Regions from separate parts of the Homo sapiens genome. Here regions 1 and 3 are each linked to region 2. The links are contacts of gene promoters, found by promoter capture Hi-C in blood cells and fetal thymus (Javierre and others, 2016). All regions are on one chromosome and are shown on one strand. Each heading gives the region's core, a stretch centred on a gene start or on the middle of the fragment in contact. The rest is flanking DNA. Distances are from core to core; before and after follow the strand shown.

Evidence for each region. Contacts are between HindIII fragments. The CHiCAGO score rates a contact against its expected background, and 5 or more counts as called.
Region 1: a contact is called between a fragment that was not itself captured here and the fragment with the promoter of AVPR1A in region 2, in 4 of 17 cell types (M2 macrophages, M0 macrophages, megakaryocytes and 1 more). The highest score is 10.1, in M2 macrophages.
Region 3: a fragment that was not itself captured here is called in contact with the fragment with the promoter of AVPR1A in region 2 in 2 of 17 cell types (M2 macrophages and megakaryocytes); the score reaches 5.7 in M2 macrophages.

What each region holds. Positions count from the first base shown.
Region 1 is chr12:63,453,581-63,456,280 of GRCh38, reverse strand. No RefSeq gene overlaps it. Among named protein-coding and RNA genes, the nearest start is that of LINC03056, 81 kb to the right of the region's middle. The HindIII fragment of the contact is 5,832 bases long and covers 1-2,700 here.
Region 2 is chr12:63,149,844-63,152,576 of GRCh38, reverse strand. AVPR1A (arginine vasopressin receptor 1A) reads left to right here and starts at 1,376. Exons shown (of 2, transcript NM_000706.5): 1 at 1,376-2,710. The coding sequence starts at 1,741. The HindIII fragment of the contact is 3,248 bases long and covers 1,169-2,733 here.
Region 3 is chr12:63,501,144-63,503,843 of GRCh38, reverse strand. No RefSeq gene overlaps it. Among named protein-coding and RNA genes, the nearest start is that of LINC03056, 130 kb to the right of the region's middle. The HindIII fragment of the contact is 2,922 bases long and covers 1-2,700 here.

The DNA.
Region 1 (2,700 bases), core at 82-2,581, 300 kb before region 2:
TTTTAATCTTTGTACAAATTCTATGAGATATTATCATTTCCTTCATTTTGTAGATGAGAAATCTGAGATTGAGTAACTAAGGACACATGTTGCCAGTAAGTAGTGGGTCTCGAATCCAAATTCAGAGATGAAAACCCACCAATGAATCCAGCATGTAATTACATTTCTCTTTTCTATAGGCAAATGTATGATTGTGAGTAACAGCTGTTATTATTTGGTGAAAAACTAGAAAACCTTCTAATGTGGAGATCATGGCTTCTATCCCAGTAGTTAGTATTCCTGAAAAGGTTCCTTGGATCATTAGTGACTACCTTAAAAAGAGATTCTGTGTCAATTGTTCAGAAAGTGCTGCAAACTCTTCCTGTCCTGAAGTTTCACATTTGTCTATTAAAGACCTTGAGAAATCCCATTGTAAAGAGGCCTATTTAACTTAAACTCTGCCTTGTTCAAACTCATTCCTACAGAACCACCTTTTATGTATATTTTAAGCAGAACGCCCTTTAGTAAGTCCTGCCATACTACAAGACAGTTCTTTTTCTGCTAGAGACATATATAATAGTGGTCTAAAATTTGAAGACATTTTATACACAATAATTTAATGAGCTTCTAGCCATATGCACAAAGTCCTGTACCCACAAAGATGCTTAGGGATTTGAGTTATGTGGGAAGCAGACAGCTCATTCATTCTTGGACTTTTATGTTCCCCAATTCTTGGAAAGTTCTTTTTATGGATTTGGCAATACCAGTTATTCCTCAGGGAAATTGTGTCTGCTATAGATCCCATTCTGTATTACTAATTTTTTAGAGTTCTCTGACTCAGGATAAGGCAAATGTATTTTAAGTTGCTTGATGGGAAAATTTTATAATTATATGTACACTACATAAGGCCATGAGACGGGGCACTATAGTGATTATGAGAAAATTTAAAAAAACTATTAATAATTTCCCAGTTTCCTCTGTGGAAAAAACTAGAAGGAGACTGCTAATTCCTTTGAAGATTTTCCAAACTGAGAAATGCTTATTGACTTTAGATTTTTAGCTTTGATATATTATTTACATATTAGATTCTTTGTCACCAAAGAGCTTGGAGTTTCTGTATTTTAATGTTAGAGAACATGGAAGCCAACCTGGATGATTAAAAAGCCCGATATGACTGTTATAATTATTATATTATTACTACCTTTTGCTGTAATGGGACATACATGGCAATGGCCATGTTTATTAGGGCTGGAGACAGGACTATGAAATATTCCCTGGGAAGCCTCGAGTTCATAAAAATAGTCCTGATTTTAATAAGATGACTTAGGGTTTAATAACTATAAGAATACCAAGGAGACCAACTATTTTAAGAATAGAATTCTCTGCAAAATAATTTGTATGTTTAATGTAATTTTAATACAAATCTTCACAGACGTTTTTTGTGAGATTTGACATAATCATTTCTAAAATCATCTGGAAGAACAGATGAGAATGTCCAAAAACATTCTGAGAGAGAAAAATTTTGTGTGAAATTGAACTTTCACTTGCAAATATTAAAACATATTATAAAACTTCAGTTATTAATGTACCATAGTAGTCACAAAAGAATAAATCATAGATGTAGAATAGAAAGGCAAGAAATAGACTCTAAAATATATAGAAATTTATACCAAGCTAAAGGTGGCATTTTAAGTTGATGGTGAATGGCAAGATGATTTAATAAAACAGAAAATATAGCATTGTCATTTGGACAAAAAAAGTAGATTTTCCCTCATCCCTTTGTTGAAATAAATTCCTGAGAGTTTAAAGAGTTCAAAGTAAAATTAAGAAGCTATAAAAATTTAAAAGTATAAAAATTTTTCCAAGGCTAAAAGCAAAAGACAAAATAAAATACTGATACATTTTATTACATAAAAAATTTCAAAATTAGAAGGCAAACTGGGGAAGTATTTGCAACATATATGACTGACAAAAGTTTCCTATCTTTAATATAACAAAAACTCTCACAAATTATTAAGTAAAATATGTTCTCATTAATAGAAACATGAGTAAAGGAGTGAATAGGACATTGGAAAAAGAAAAGATGATACATATATAAACTTAGTAGTCATAAAATAATTTAAAAATATGACAAGTTACAATAGAAAAATAAAGATTTTTTTCAAAAAAACTATTTTTTGGTGGGGGTTAAGTAAAATGAAAATCACTTTCATTGCTGGTTGGAAAATAAATTAATATCATCTTTATGAAGGTCAATTTGGTAATATATATCAAGTATCTTATACATGCTGAACTCCTCAGATTCTTAATTCTACTTCAAACAATTAATCCTAAGAAGATACTTAAATGTGCACAGAATTTATGTATAGAGGTTTTTATTGTTAAAATTTAGATATTCCCTAAAAGATGAGTTTTTATTCCATAGAATATTGTACTTAAGACTATCAGCCTTGGAGGATGCAGGTCTGGTTTGAATCCCAGTTTCTAATAAACATTATGCCCTTAAGCAAGTTGCTTAACTTCAAAAATGCTTGCCTCATGAGGACGTTCTAAGGAATAACTGATAATATATGTAAGGTGCTTTATACAATACCCAGAATTCCTCAATAGCAGAGCTCAATAAATGGTAGTTACTGTTATCATTACTATTATACATAGATGAATACATAATTTTAGAGAATATTGTCATTGAGAAATACCTATGATAAAATATTGTGGCGA
Region 2 (2,733 bases), core at 127-2,626:
GCACAGACCCAGGATTATCTAGCCACAGGAAGCAGGACTCCAGATTTCAAGTCCAGCATCTCAACGTGACAACCTTGGTAACTCTGCATGAACGGACTGGATAGTAAAGTGGAATTATTACTGAGAACTGCAATGAATAAAATCTTTTGCATTTTTTGCCTACGTTTCACAGAGGGTGATATTTTTCTGAGGCAATTAAATTTATACCACGGCCACAATACTGAAACGTTCTGACCAACAAAGTCATGCTCCTGCATCTACACAGCAGATAACTGCAGAAACGGCTTCCTTTCTTCCTTGTAAAATTGCCTGAAAACAGCTCCCCCTTGCTGTCCGTCGAGGCATATCTTCACCAACGTTAAAACAGAGCTGAGGGAGATCGCATTTCTGCCTCCCTCCCGCCCTGCAGAGGGGCTCCAGCTGTTCAGAGTAACGGATTACTAGGTAGGTGGTTGTTTCCCCTCCTTCCCAGGGCCTCTTTCCTCTCTTTGAGATTGCCTCTTTCTTACTCCTGAGCACAGGAGCCGGGCGGGTTTTCTGTCCCTTGCCCTGGACAGCACTGCCTGGATGGCCGCTGTCCGGCAGCTGCTCTTTGTCCACCCAAAAAGATGTCCCCACGACTCAGTAGTAACCAGACGGTCCCCACGGACCACTGCGGCCAAATTTCCGCCATCCCCGCTGTGGGAATCAGGCTTTTCCCGCAGAAAACCCCAGGAATCTAGAGAAAACTCCTTAAGTCCCTAGTCTCCATAGAGAAAACCAGGAGACACTCCCCCCAAACCCCGCTGTGAATACAGGCACAGCAGCCACTGGGGCTGCAAAGTGATGAGTGCGTTCTTCCCGTCGCAAACATAGGGTAATAAATAGCATGCATCAAAGACGTTACTAGGAAGAGATAGCTCTTTAAGTCACGAGCGGGGAGAAATGTTTGCCCCGGGAAAATTTGCCTGGGGAATAAAATTTGCCAGACTGCTGCACGGGTGAGCTCGGTGAGAAGGAAGAAACCCGGACTGGAGGAGGTGAGGTCGAGAGCCAGGTTCAGGTGCAGGAGCTAGATGCGTGGACGCCGGTGCGTGGACTGGAGGTTTCCAGGTACCGCGCTTAGCGTGCCTGTTGAAGTCAAATGCATGGTTAAGGAGGCTAGCGAGGAAGGCTAGTGAGGGAAGCTTGTGGAAACGGCTACGAGCCCAGAAAAGGCATGACTCGTCCAGTTGTCCAAGTTTTTGGAAGGGAAAAGCGGGAAAGCGCCACGATCCCACCTACTGTGAGGAGGAATCTGCGAGTCTCCCAGCTCCACCCCCTCCACAGTGATGCAGAGGACAAACACCGACGTAGGGAGAGGAAAAAATAAAACTCCAGGGAGCGGGGAGTAGGCAACCAGCAGTCTTCCGGCAATAGGGCGGGAGGGAGCGCGTCCCAAGGAAACAAGCACCGCATAAATACTTGAGTTGGGAACCCAGTGCTTCCGGAAGCTCGGAGCTCACCTTCCCGACCTCGCCGAAGTTGAAAAAAGGCAGAGCAGGGAGAGGGGCCAGCTCACCCTGCTGAGAGCTGCTCAGTGGGCAGGCGGGACGCTGCTCCGGGAGACGCCCACTGGAGGGATCGCAGAGCCCGGCAAGCTGCGAGCGCGCCAAAGACCCTGCGCTTCGGACGAGGAGCCCAAGTCCTCCGAGACGGGGAGGGAGCGGCCCGCGAGGGCTGGAGCTCCGAAGAGGGCCGAGTAGGAGCTGCATGGACAGCATGCGTCTCTCCGCCGGTCCCGACGCGGGGCCCTCGGGCAACTCCAGCCCATGGTGGCCTCTGGCCACCGGCGCTGGCAACACAAGCCGGGAGGCCGAAGCCCTCGGGGAGGGCAACGGCCCACCGAGGGACGTGCGCAACGAGGAGCTGGCCAAACTGGAGATCGCCGTGCTGGCGGTGACTTTCGCGGTGGCCGTGCTGGGCAACAGCAGCGTACTGCTGGCTCTGCACCGGACGCCGCGCAAGACGTCCCGCATGCACCTCTTCATCCGACACCTCAGCCTGGCCGACCTGGCCGTGGCATTCTTCCAGGTGCTGCCGCAAATGTGCTGGGACATCACCTACCGCTTCCGCGGCCCCGACTGGCTGTGCCGCGTGGTGAAGCACCTGCAGGTGTTCGGCATGTTTGCGTCGGCCTACATGCTGGTAGTCATGACAGCCGACCGCTACATCGCGGTGTGCCACCCGCTCAAGACTCTGCAACAGCCCGCGCGCCGCTCGCGCCTCATGATCGCGGCCGCCTGGGTGCTGAGCTTCGTGCTGAGCACGCCGCAGTACTTCGTCTTCTCCATGATCGAGGTGAACAATGTCACCAAGGCCCGCGACTGCTGGGCCACCTTCATCCAGCCCTGGGGTTCTCGTGCCTACGTGACCTGGATGACGGGCGGCATCTTTGTGGCGCCCGTGGTCATCTTGGGTACCTGCTACGGCTTCATCTGCTACAACATCTGGTGCAACGTCCGCGGGAAGACGGCGTCGCGCCAGAGCAAGGGTGCAGAGCAAGCGGGTGTGGCCTTCCAAAAGGGGTTCCTGCTCGCACCCTGTGTCAGCAGCGTGAAGTCCATTTCCCGGGCCAAGATCCGCACGGTGAAGATGACTTTTGTGATCGTGACGGCTTACATCGTCTGCTGGGCGCCTTTCTTCATCATCCAGATGTGGTCTGTCTGGGATCCCATGTCCGTCTGGACCGGTACGTGCCGGGAAAATAGAGGA
Region 3 (2,700 bases), core at 61-2,560, 350 kb before region 2:
AAGCAATAGGAAGACTTGGGATGAAGAAAACAGAGAATTCTGCACAGGAAAACAACCATGAAAATTTCAGGATAACAACTATGCTGAGGGTCAGAAAAAAATCCTAACTGAAGTAGAAGGATGGATTATTCCAGGAGAAAGGACAACACGGAAAAAAAGTGAAATTGCTGTATTATTTGATATGTTTGAGCATTGGGGAGAGAATTCTATAAGTTCTGTAAGTAAGGGAAAGTTCTATAAGTAAAGGAAAGTTCTATAAGTAAGGAATATGACTCATGATAATGTAAGCACTAACTATGACCCCATTGGGATGATAGGGAAAGGGTATGAGGTGAAGGGGGCCATATCAAGGAGTCAAAAAGTAATGACAAAACGGATAAATCCAGAAGTAGCAGCATACACATATTTAGAAGCACAGAGGAAATAAAAAACAGCAAAATAGTTGAAGAGTTAACTGTCTGAGGGCAGTAACTGGGGGTGGCATGTGGTTGAGAGAAGAAGTGCTTTTTTGGATGTATCTTTTGGTAATATTTGATTTTTAAAAACCATGTGCAACTATTAAAACAGTTGCAACTATTTTTAAAAATAAAGATATATTTGATATTATTCTAATATATATATAATGAAAAACTATTTTCAAAGATATGACAGAGGAATATAAAGAAACTCTAAGACTAAAGAGTCTGACATAGTAAAAATAAAACTGAATATATCAATCAACATACTATTAATTGTATAAAGACACATGAGAGGGAAGGGGGAAAAAAGCAAATTACCATTATCATAAACATTAAAACAGATGGAAGAAATAAGATGAGAATGAAAAAGTCTTTAGCTTTCAAGTTTAAAACAGAAACTCAGTTCTGAGCATCCTATTACTGACATATAATTAACACTCGAAAAATTTTGTTTCAGCAAAATCACTGGTAGAAAAGCTGACATTTTATATTCTTTAAGTTATTAGATTATATTTTGATTTTGAGGAAAATGAAATTCAAGAGACTAAGAAAAATGATACAGAACAAAGCTACAAGCAACTCACCAAAATGTTGCTGATAAAATTAATATGAGACATGAAATTCATTAAAAAGCATTATTTGGATAAAGAACCATTTCCGAAGATCTCTAGAATGAAAGTTCAGGAAATAGGAGAGTAAATAATAACGTTTAATAAATATGAAGAATGCAGAGAAAAAAAGGCACAATGAGTGGTTTAGAAATTGTATTTCACCTGAAAACCAAAGGCTCATTGGTAAGTGGAGTAGACCCAAAGAAGAAATGTTTTAATGAAAATGTTTGTAATTATTGATACATTTGGGTTTAAATCTACCATGTAGTTCTGTGTTTTCTTTTATGTACCTTTTTATTCTTGTTTCTTTTCTTCCTTTCTTGCATTCTTCTAGATCTAGATTTATTACTTATTTCTGGACATTCTATAGGCACCCCTTTATTTGTTTGGATTTTATTAAAAGACAAATTTAAAAATTAATGGTAATACTAACATTTTTTCCTGCCAATTAAGAACAAAAATTGTTAACATCAATTTGAAGTAAACATTATTTGGCAATTAATTCATTTATGTACTATCCCAATGTAATTTAAGAATTGTAGCACATATTTAAAGTCAATTTATTCTACATTGACTTTGAGTTATTGTATATTCATGAAAAAAAACTAAAACCAAATCCTCAGAATTAAGTATTCAATCTTCTGAGGTGAGAGTGAGCATCTTACAACTAATCATATTATATCTGTAATTTTTCTAACTTATGCTCTCACATTATCACTTTGAAATCTTTCAGCTGTTACTATTTTTATAGAGCCTGACACTAATGGATCTGGACTATTCTTTGTTTATATTGAGTATTCTATATGAATTTCTCTGAAACAAATTGCATTAAATTTTACAATGATAATTTTAATGTGGAATGGTTTAATTTCTTAAGGATGCTTATACAGGCTAGAGTAACTGCACCTTTATTATTAGGAAAGTCTATCGACTAAAAATCTTTTATGTTGAAAAGGTTCTTGAAACTTCATTTGACCCAGTCTGATGCCTCTAGACAGGTACTATTATTCTCATTTTGTTTCTGGAAGAACTGAGACCTAGAGTAATCAAACTGCTAGCTTAACCTCTCACAACTAGTAAGTGACAGAGGGTAAAGGGATATCTGAGAATCTTATAAGGACACTACAATTTTCTTCTAGTAAAATACGCTGATCTTTTTTTGGTGCATGTTAGATCAAAAATCAAGATGAAAAGTAAATAATTTTAGTTAATCTGTTTTTCCATATCTTCAAGGTCAGTGTACCATAATTCATTTCTATCCCTCCCCCAAAATCAGAGGAAAAGAGAAATACATAATCTTTAATAGAAATTACTTCATTTGAAATGAGCGTTTCATGATTTCAATCTCCTCCTGACATATACTAATTCAGTAGCAGAAGAGTAAGATCAGGATGGAATCTATTTTCAGATGTCTTGACACAGTTCCTTCGATTTCTCCTTCAATCTCTTGGATGAGACTTCCATAGTTAAATCCAACCATGTGCAGTTTAATAGTTCAACACATTCTAATATACATGCGTTTTTAATAAATACAAAATAGCTCTGAAGGACAAGTTAATGGTCTTAATCTCACATTTATTTGCAATTACACTTTAAATAGATATCCAATTTTAGTTTTCTTCTCTAACATA